Regions from separate parts of the Homo sapiens genome. Here all the other regions are linked to region 1. Evidence: promoter capture Hi-C in human tissues and cell types (Jung and others, 2019). All regions are on one chromosome and are shown on one strand. The core of a region is centred on a gene start or on the middle of the fragment in contact, and the rest is flanking DNA. Distances in the headings are between cores, read along the strand shown.

Region 1 (3,428 bases), core at 358-2,857:
GAGGACAAAAACCTGCCTGGGTCATGCAGTTAGAAAGTAGTGGAGCTAGGATTTGAACCCAGGTCCCTCTAAGCCCCATGTGCTTCCACTGCAGAGGCCTCCAGGTGGGGAGGCAGTATTTGCATGGAGGCCTCATGCACCATGCCAGGTGGAGTCTCAGACCTCAGTCTAAGGCATTATCAGAGAGCTGCAGCCCTGGAGCCTTCAGGCCTGGCCTCCTCCATCTGGCCCCCTCTGGTCCTTCCAGCTCAGCTCAGGGCCTCAGGGAAGGTTTCTGAGTTTGATGATGCTATTAGAGATCCCCAGGGGTCTCTGCCCACCTGAGGACCTGGGAGCCAGTGACCCCTTGCTCCCAGGAGGGGCTGGCACCACAGCCCAGCTGGAGCCTGGCTGGGGTGGTGCCCCAGGAGAGGGGAAGGCGCCAGTTCTCGAGATGGGGAAACAATGGGGTATGTCTAAGCCTCCCTCTCTAGGCCGGGAGCAGTGACTTCGGCCTCTTCCTCCCCACCAACTAGGGTTCAGAATTATGGGGGAGGTACATCTATTCCTCCTCCACACAACACTCACCCCTCACTTCTCTGAAATGCATCGGGCCTAACACCAGATTGGGGGGTGGGGGTGGTGGAATAGGAGCTCAGGTCAGGGTTCTGGGTATTTACCCCAGCAGGGATCCCCTCGACACCCTCGCTGGCCCTGGCTACTCCAGAGCCGAGCCGACTTCCCTTCCCGCAGCCGGGCCTAGGATTCCCCTGGTTGAGGCTGAGCCTTCAGCGCCTGCCCTGAGAGACACACCTGCCTAGGTCGGTGCTGCCCAATCCAGAGAGGGGCCCGGCCACGCCAGGCCTGGCAGGTAGGCCCATCTGGCCAGGCAGGGCTCGGGGAGGGGCTCAAACATCCTCCTCCCAGCACCAACAATGTCGTTGCCCCAGGAAACTGCGACCCGCGCCCCTCCAGGCTGTTCCCAGCTCTATTCACAGGCTAAGATGCAGCCTGCCTGCCCGCTCCGGGATCGCAACCCCGACCCCAGACCCTGCCGCAGCCCGGAGGTTGGGGAGAAGGAGGCCTCCGAGCCCCCTCCTCCAATTCCAGCGCAGACCTCCCAGCCTAGGACCAGGAATGGCGGAGGGAACAGCCTCGTGAACATGCAACGGCTACCAGTCCGGACTTGAGGCTGGCGGGGCTTCTGAGGGGGGCTCTGTCCCGGGAAGAGACCCCACTCCCACGCAGCCCTTTCGTTCCCGGGTTCCCGAGGTTCTGGGGTGGGGGGCGGGCAGGGCAGCCAATGCGGATCAGTCCCCGCTGAAGGGCGAGGCGCGCGGCGGCCGGGGACTCTCACCTGAAATTGGGAGGCGAAGCGATGTGCAGCCCCAGGAACGGGGAGGCGGCGGGCGGGGACGCGGCCCCCCCTCCCAGGCCGCCGCTTTCTCGCTCCGCCATTCTCGGGCACAGCCCTGGCCATCCGGGCGGAGCGCGGCGCGGAGGAGGCGGCGGCTGCGAAGGAGGCGGAGGCGCGGCGAGAGGGCAGCCGCCGCCGCGGAGTTCGGGCTAGGCGGGCGCACCTGTGTCTGGCAGGGCGCGGCACAGCACCGCGCACGGCCCGCGGGACTGGCGAGAGCGCCCCGCGCGCGCCCCCGGGACCCGGCCGGGGTCTCGCGCGCCCCGCCCAGGCCCCGCCCCCACCCCGCCAGCCCCGCCCCCGGAGATGGCGCTCTCCGCGGTGCTGAAGCCACGGCCCCCGCGGCCCTGGGCTTGGTTCAGCCCCGCCCTAAATCCGACATCGACTCTCCTCCACCCCGTGGCCGGTGTGGGCTTTGTCCCTCCGGTTGGGCTTAGTGCCCGGGTATCAGATGACTAATGGCAGGACACTGGACCCCAAGGTCCAGGTTGGCCCCCCGCAGCAGAGACCAAGAAGGCAGGCGGAAAAGGAGGGTCGTGGAGGAAGGCAGAGAAAGGAGAGGATGTCAGTGGGCTCTTAAAGTGTACAGGTTTGGAGTCAGGTGGTGTGAATTCACTGGCTCCACAAGTGACTGGGCAGTGGGGCCTTGCATTAGTGACTTCAGAGCACTAAGGTTTGGTCTTCTTATCTGTGAAATGGGACAATAGCAGTCCCTCTCATGGTTGTTGTGAGAATGTAACGTAACACAAATGTGTTGCCTGAGACCCAGAAACACTCCACCTCCTGCGCTGGGATCCAGCCCTCACCCCAGTCCTGTCCCTTTACCTTGAGGGGACCCTCCCAAAGACTCTCCCTAGAGGCTGTCTTCTCTAAAGATTGACCCAAATCTCTCTTCAGCCCCAAACAGCTACTCGTGGTGAATTGAGCCCTCCAGGCTTCTCGGTCTCTCGCCAGGACCTTCCCAGCATTCTCCTTCTTAGCGCCTCAACTGCATTTCCTGCAGAGCACCCCTCTTCTGCACCCACAGACACACATTCTAAGACTTGGCGCCTTTCCCTCTCCTCCCACTGTTGACTTCTTGGGATCATTTTGGTTGTTTCTGTTCCCTCTGGCACCTCCATCCCTGCTAGGCTTTGGCCATGGCTTCTTCCTCATTGTCTCTCCCTCGAGAGGGTGTTATTCCTGGGCTTCCAGGCCTTCAAGTCCCTGAGTTTCCCGATTGAGTTATTTCAGAGTACGGACTGCCAAGGCTAGGGCCTTAGCTTTGCTGGGTCGTAGAGCCTCTGGTCAAACCTCATTGGCTTCTCTGGTCTCTCGAGAGAACCCTAGAGACCCTGTCCACAGGGCAGAAAACGTGCAGAGCAAACTGTGCCACAACTCGTGGAGTCCTATTTGCAAATCTGGACTGCCGACCAGTCATGCTGGCCCCTTTCCTTCAGTGCGGCACCTAGCAAGGAGCTGGAGGCACCTTCCGTGCAGAAGGCAACCTCCGACCACCAGCCCTGAGAATATCCCAATACCTAGAGCCAAAGGTCATGGCTGCTTCTCTTTTCCCTGTCCCTGGGGCCCAGAGGGGTGGCCACTACTTTCTCAGCTTTCGTGATCAGGCCCCTTTCACTGGGCCCTCACGGTAATCATCTGCTGCCATGGTGCCTGGCTTTTCCTCTCAGGAAAGCAGTCTTGCCATCATGGCTACTAATCGTTCCTTAGAATGTAGACCTGCCTCAGCTAGGGAACATCCTTAGCAGGTCAGGGGTGGATGTAAAGGACAACTCCCTCTTCCAGAACCTTTTGCTCAAGAGCAAAGTTATCTTAGCTCCAAAGACCAACCCAAAGCCATTATTAGAGAGAAGCCAGAAGGGCAAGAAGGAAAGGCAGGCCCAGGTCTTGGTATGAGGGAGGCCAGCAGGAGCTTCAGAGCAGAGCCAAGAATGAGACAAGTTCCCAAGGCAGGTTCCTCCCCTTTTCTCCTTCTTCACTCTGTGCAGGCCAGACTGTGATATTCTTGGGCCTTGCCTGGGCCCCTTCCCAG
Region 2 (3,428 bases), core at 623-3,122, 210 kb before region 1:
TTTGCCAATCTTTATTTATAGTGTGTAAAACATAACAGGAAAGTAACTTTGTGTTTTCAAAACATGCACTACAGTTAGATACATTGGTATACTCAAAGGAAAAATGTGTATGAGAATGTTCTTTTCATACATTGTTAGTTTAATACTGGTAATCCCTTTTAGGATAATATTTTCATTTGTCTTTTAACTTACTGAAGATGTCTGAGCCACCACTAACTTAGTGAAGAACGATGCCTGCTGGACAGATTTTAGCTTTTCTTACTCCTGCTTTTAGAAGTTCTGAGATTATTAGTTTTGAGCTTGTGTTCTTAGGAGTTGCATTTTATTTTATGTACACTTTCCTGTCTGTGATGGTTGTATGGACCACCATTTCTTAGCATAAGCAGGACAATATATAAGTCAGCTTAAAGTTGCAGGTCACAAGTCTTGTTCCGCACTTCCTTCTTGTGCATATTCTATTTCTATTTAACCCAAATGTGTGTATTGGTTAAGGAATGCTTGTTTCACTTATAAAATGGTTTGTCAAGGAGGGACTTTTGACTACCTGCTATCTTTAGACGTGGTAACAGTGGTTAGAAACTTGCTATGTGCTCCCTTGTTTGCTCTTCTTTGCACTGTAAGTTGTACATATGTCTGCAGTTGTGGGGCGTGTTCATTAGGAGTCACTACAAGGTAATGGTAGACTTATTTCTGAATTTATTTGGTTGCATTAGTTTAAATTAGACCCACAGGTGTAATTATTCCATCTCAATGCATGGGGAAGCATAGTCAGTGAAAGTTGTGCATGTAAACCCCTGTGCATTGAAAATGTGTCTTTAATGTTATGATGTTATTTGGCATCTATCATTTAGTGCAAGGAGTATACTTACTTAACAGGACCTTTAATAAGTTCCCTCTACACCAAAGATATATATTTTAAAAATTATACTTAAGAAGACTTTGTGGTATTCCCCAGAAGAGTTCGCCTATAGCAGCAAAACCTTTCTAAAATAAAACTTATTCTTTTAACCGGTATTCATTTAAGTGGGTTTCTCTCTACTTGGTTTCCATGGAAATAGCAAATAGCTAACGTTATTTATAAGGTGGAAGTAAAATAGGGTGCCTAATGGGACCCCATGCTGCTCTGATGAAGAGACTTAGGAAAAAAGTCCATGCTCATGGGATTTTTTTTTTTTTAAACAAGGTTAATGGAAGCCCTGATTTCAGTCTTCTGTAACATAACATATTTTTGGTCTTAAAGGCTAGCATTAATATCAAGCAAACAACTTCTTTTTGAGGTCTGTATTGCTTTCACTTTCAAGTTTTAGGACTACTTACTTATCAGCGTGATTGAGGCATGTTTCAGACTCCTGTTTCTTTGTGGTTTTTGTTTCAAAAGTTAAAATTCCCAGTGTATTGTAGCTGTTTCCACTTCTCATTGACATTTCAAAGTACTGATAAAAAGATAAATGTTCATTAAGGATAGCAGTGGTGAGAAAGGATCAATATGTTGGACTACAAAGATTTTTTAAAAAATGTAAATTGTATGGAACCATTTTTAGTTTTTAGGCCTAAAGTCAGGGTTCTTTTTTATTTGTGTTGTGGAGCTAAACCTGTATAGTCAGAGAGAAGAGATTCTAATTTTCTTTCAGGCTGGAAACAGGGAAAATCTTAATTTCTCTTTCCTTTTTAAAAAATGGATTGTTGCCAAAACCTTTTAACTGAAATAAATGTTAATTCTTTTAGTGCTTGAAATGTGGATTTGGAATAAAGCTTGGCTTTTTTCTCACTTCTTCGGTAAGGCCTACTCTGAGTTTTCTAGGCCTGCAGCAAAGCCTTGCATTTTTTAAGCCCCTTCAAGTGAAAGAGTATCATTCCCTTTGTGTTTGTGTTTGTGTTTAGGGTGTGTGTGTGTGTGTGTGTGTGTGTGTGTGTGTGTGTGTCTAATTTTTCTATAGCCTGAAAGGCACCTGCTCATTTTCCAGCCTAGTGAGTACAGCAGTGCTATATTGAGAAGTGAGGCAGGATGGAACACAATAAGGTGCTATAATTTTTATTTAGTTAGTTTTGCTCATCCTCGGCAGCTTGTGATCACTGTCCATTTATCTGGAAGTACTCTGATTATTCTTGGCTATCGATGCAGCAGGAGTTTTCTTCTGTGTTTAAAGCAAGGACTGTAGTATACTGAGGGCTCCATCAGGGAGGAGTTGAGTTTTGTTTTGTGTGCATGTGTTTCTCTGGATAAGCTTCTGGCTATAGTTGGGTTTACTGTGCTTTAATTTTTTAAAATTTGGTTGTTTTAATCTTGTTGAATTTATTTTTGTGTGAGATATTTTTCTCTAGCAATTCACTAATTTCTTCTGTGTATGTTGATGCTATTTTATAAAATTTTCTTAATGTGTTGTTCTTTTAGTTTAACTTCTTCTTGTTTATTTTTAAAATCTGGTATCTAGCATTGACCTTTCTTAGTGACTTTTATTTGAATTATCTTGTGCTTTAGAGACATAGGAATTTGGGTCTATTATCCCATTTCTGAGCGAACAACTCCCAGTAGTTACAGTTAGTGCAATAGAAAGGGTTCTCACAGATGCAGTGCTGGGCGTTGATCCTCCTCCTTGGTGCTTATGGTTTACACCCAGAACTCCCATTAGTGTTAATAGGAGGCACTTCCTTAAATCCCTGTACACCAAAATAAGCTCAAACTCTTTTATAATGCCTTATAGATACCTGAGTTGTTTTTTTGTTGTTAATGACAAGAGTTTTAGTCCTGAGGTTAACTGATTATTAAGATAGAGTTTGAGTTGTCTTGGGATAAGGAGTGATTTACTAAGTCTGATCTATAATTAAGAAGTTTTCGTTATGATCATTAGACTCAGAAAACAGCTTCGTGAGAGCTATGGAAGCTTGTGAATAAGGATTTTTGTACTTTATAGAGTGAGGAAGCAAGATTTCTTCTTTCTATTTATTTCTGCTATTTCTTCTCAACCATAAAAAATGGTTCTAACAGTTTTTGTTTATATTGTAAGAAGACTTAGAAAAATTGTTTTGTTTTTTATTCTACTTAAAAGCCTTCCTGTAATTACCCTCTGGCCTCAAAGTCTTTTATTAGCTAGTGTGGCTCACATTTTTCAAGCATATAGAAGTTAATATGCACTGTTTTAGAACTTAGACACTACAACCACTGGTCAAGTAATAGATAATCAGTGTTTACTACACCCATCTGTGAATTGTGGATTTTTATTACTTCCATTTATTTATGTACAGTCTAAATCTTTGTAGATTTTAGCTAGTCATCTGGACTTCTTGGACCTCTGTTCCTCCATGAAATGAAGGTATGGATCTGCCCTCTGAGGTGTCCATTCTAGTTTTAGGCTGTTTGAAGGCCTACTTTCCTAGGTACTGAAGGAAATAGAGTACTGTAAGGCAGGCAGTGGTTTCTAATCCTGGCT
Region 3 (3,428 bases), core at 353-2,852, 140 kb before region 1:
AAGGATTTTTTTTTTGCATTTTCTAATTCAGATTATAAAAGACAGTCAGCCATTCAATATGGAAACAGTTTACCACATAAACTTGTTTGAGGGGCGAACAGGGTAGAGAAGAGGTAGCTAAAGCTTTCCACAAGAGAAAAAGTCTCAATGCTCTCCCTTAGGTTTATTTTAAAGGGCCAAAAAGAGGTATATTAATAAAAATAACCTTGACACCTGTTTATGCAAAGGATCATGAAGCATTGGAATGATATTCTAAGTCCTATTCATTGTCAGCTTTCATGTACCTTGTGCATGACATCTACATCATGGATTGTCTGCACCTCAATATTCCACCTCAGGCAGTTTCCCCCTAAGGCACATTTTACTACAAAACATATCCCATGCCACTGAGCTGGGGTGGAATTTTAATTTTAAAACTTAGTCAAAACATAATTTTATAGATATATCTATCCCCAAAGGACTGAAAATTTTAAAGCCAAATATAACGAAGTTTTGGATATTTTGGTATTTTGGTTTAACCTTAGCCCAGGTCTCTCGCCTAAGTACGAATAGTCAGAAAGCCAACTTCCTCTGATACCAGGATATATTTAGATAACTTGGCATGATCTGAGACTCTCTTTTACTTAAAGGACATTCTTGGGACATTGTCAAAATCTGCATAAAGTCTGGAGATAATAGTATTGTATCAGTGTTGATTTTCTGATTTTTCCCCTCAACATTTTATTTTGAAATGTCTTCGCCTACAATAAAAGTTGAAAACACTTTAATTTACAATGGGCTATGAGCAGTCACAGCCCATCACCTATACTTGCTCCATCACATATCTGCCGATGACTCTGTCTTATGAAAAGCCATATTATGCCTATGACTTGCAAATAATTCCAGAGAAAAATTATGTGTTTGTGGAGAGAGCAAGAGAGGAGAATAAAAAAAATGTGGTAAAGATAACATTTTTGGGGAATTTGGGTGAAAGGTATATAGGAATTTTCTGTGCCATTACAACTTTTCTGTAACCCTGAAATTGTGTCAAAGTGAAAATTTTTTAAATGAGATTATAAGAGCATAATCAAATTGGAATTTTCTTAGGATACCAGAGAATCATTTTCTTCTCAGGTAAAGGAATTTTTCTTTTGTAGTCCAGAGCTATACATGATTAAGAAAATGTTCAGACCAGGAAGATGACATCTCTGCTAACCTAATCGATTATCATGGAAGGTCTAGAATTGGTGCTAAAGCAGGAAGAAAGGGGATATCTACTTCATCAGAAAGTATTTGAATTTGACCTAAAAACCAACTAAAATGTTCACTTTCCTATTGGTCATATTGTGTGAAAGGGACATAGTAAGTTTGAGAAAAGAAGAAATTCAGTGGGGATAAGACAGAAGAAGACTCCACCTCTTTGTATCTGTGGTATGAAATCATACTCTGTTGGGAGATGGAGAAAAGTTGTTTTTTTTTTTTAATCTGTATACATATGCCCCAGAGAAAATTATTTTCTTTCAACATATTCCTGTCACTGTTATCTCTTTCAGAGAAAGCTCCTTGTGGATAGGCAGTGTGTGTTTATTTTCATAAAGTTTCTAGAACACCATTACTCAGCTGGCTAATAGTGTTAATGACAAGATTAAGAAGCGAGGTGGAACAGCATAGCATAATGCTGATCTTGAGTAGCTTCCTGTGAGAAATTATTTATTGGAAGGGATGTTCAATAATAAGGGATGATGGCTTTATAGACTAGTCTAGAACTAGGAGTCACTATGGTATAGAAAAGGGAAATTAAGGGATCATCAGGATGGCAGGTTTATTCTTAAAGAAGTCCCTAAGTCTTTCTTTCTTTCTTTCTTTTTTTTGAGATGGAGTCTCACTTGGTCACCCAGGCTGGAGTGCAGTGGCACAATCTTGGCTCACTGCAACCTTCACCTCCTGGGTTCTAGCTATTCTCCTGCCTCAGCCTCCTGAGTACTGGGATTATAGGCGTGTGCCACCACACCTGGCTAATTTTTTGTATTTTTAGTAGAGATGGGGTTTCACCATTGTGGTCAGGCTGGTCTTGAACTCCTGACCTCAAGTGATCCACCTGCCTCGGCCTCCCAAAGTCCTGGAATTACAGGCATGAGCCACCATGCCAGGCCCAAAAGTCCCTAAGTCTTAATTAAAGTATAGAGGAAAAAATAGAAGAGAATCTAAACTAGGTGGCCACATCAGAGAGAAGCTTAATATTACATAAAAAGCAATTAAAAGCATTGTTTTAATGGAAGAAAAGTGATGTTGCTTAATAACAAGCAGAAAGCACTTTCATGGGAGAAAGGAGGCTACAAGAAAAAGAGAAGGACAGAGGAAAGAGATATAGGGAGAGAGGGAGGGAAAGTTTTGATAGCCTAGACATGTAAGTGGGAGAAATAGGAAAGTCAGAGAAGATAATAATTTAATGGAAGGTAGATTTATGCCTGGATCAGGTTGTGATGGGAAGGAGGAGAAAGAAAGAGGACCAGCAACTCAGTTAGCCCAACATATAAAATCATTAAGCTGGGAGATATCCCCAGACACCACCTTGCCCTTTCCTTGCTTTCATAACCAATTGCAACTAATCCAGTATTTCCCAAACTGTGTTCCTTAGAACATCAGTGTTCCCACATGTTACAGGTTGCTACATGCTCTATGCCATTCAGTGATTCTTTTTGTTTGTTTGTTTTCGAGATGGTGTCTTGCCGTGTCGCCCAGGATGGAGTGCAATGGCACGATCTTGGCTCACTGCAACCTCCGCCTCCTGGGTTCAAGCAATTTTCCTGCCTTAGCCTCCTGAGTAGCTGGGATTATAGGCACCCGCCACCACACCTGGCTAATTTTTGTATTTTTAGTAGAAACAGGGTTTCACCATGTTGGCGAGGCTGGTCTCAAACTCCTGACCTCAGGCGATCCGCCCACCTCTGTCTCCAAAAGTGTTGGGATTACAGGCATGAGCCACTGCGCCTGGCCTCCATTCAGTGATTCTTAACACACATTAGCAACTGAGGATAAAGAATCCTTTAGTAAAAATCTATTTAAGTGTGTTTAACTTGGTATTTGGTAAACTTACTAACCTCTTTTTCAGGAACACACCTTTTCATATCTGAGGGGATACCAGTATTCCATATGACACAGTTTAGGAATGCTGACCTAACCCTTTCTAGAAAGAGAGCAGTCTTCTTTCTTAATTTCCTTACCTGGTTTTGGAAATGGGTTTTGGCACTTCCCAAATGGTAGTCTGGTTCCGAAATGTTACCTAAATCCCTTCTGCTCATGACTTCTTACTCTGGGCAAAATAGCTCTGTGCAAGACAGACTCACAAAATGTTCAAAATAGAAGGGGCCTCAGTAATTAGCCATCAGCTGTCTCTCTGCCAGATCCCGGCCTGCCTTATGGAAGGCTAAGAAACCATTGCTTACACT

What was found. The method cuts DNA at HindIII sites, captures the fragments that hold promoters and counts their contacts. A contact is called where the count stands out against the background at its distance.
Region 2: a fragment that was not itself captured here is called in contact with the fragment with the promoter of MAPK8IP1 in region 1 in 1 of the 25 tissues and cell types used here (H1 embryonic stem cells).
Region 3: a fragment that was not itself captured here is called in contact with the fragment with the promoter of MAPK8IP1 in region 1 in 2 of the 25 tissues and cell types used here (bladder and heart right ventricle).

The regions. Positions count from the first base shown.
Region 1 is chr11:45,883,830-45,887,257 of GRCh38, reverse strand. MAPK8IP1 (mitogen-activated protein kinase 8 interacting protein 1) reads right to left here and starts at 1,607. Exons shown (of 12, transcript NM_005456.4): 1 at 1,337-1,607. The coding sequence starts at 1,437. RefSeq lists a silencer at 1,346-1,745. The HindIII fragment of the contact is 16,221 bases long and covers 1-3,428 here.
Region 2 is chr11:46,098,018-46,101,445 of GRCh38, reverse strand. All of the region lies in intron 1 of PHF21A (PHD finger protein 21A), which reads left to right. Among named protein-coding and RNA genes, the nearest start is that of PHF21A, 22 kb to the left of the region's middle. The HindIII fragment of the contact is 3,376 bases long and covers 185-3,428 here.
Region 3 is chr11:46,023,222-46,026,649 of GRCh38, reverse strand. All of the region lies in intron 6 of PHF21A (PHD finger protein 21A), which reads left to right. Among named protein-coding and RNA genes, the nearest start is that of PHF21A, 97 kb to the left of the region's middle. The HindIII fragment of the contact is 4,792 bases long and covers 1-3,428 here.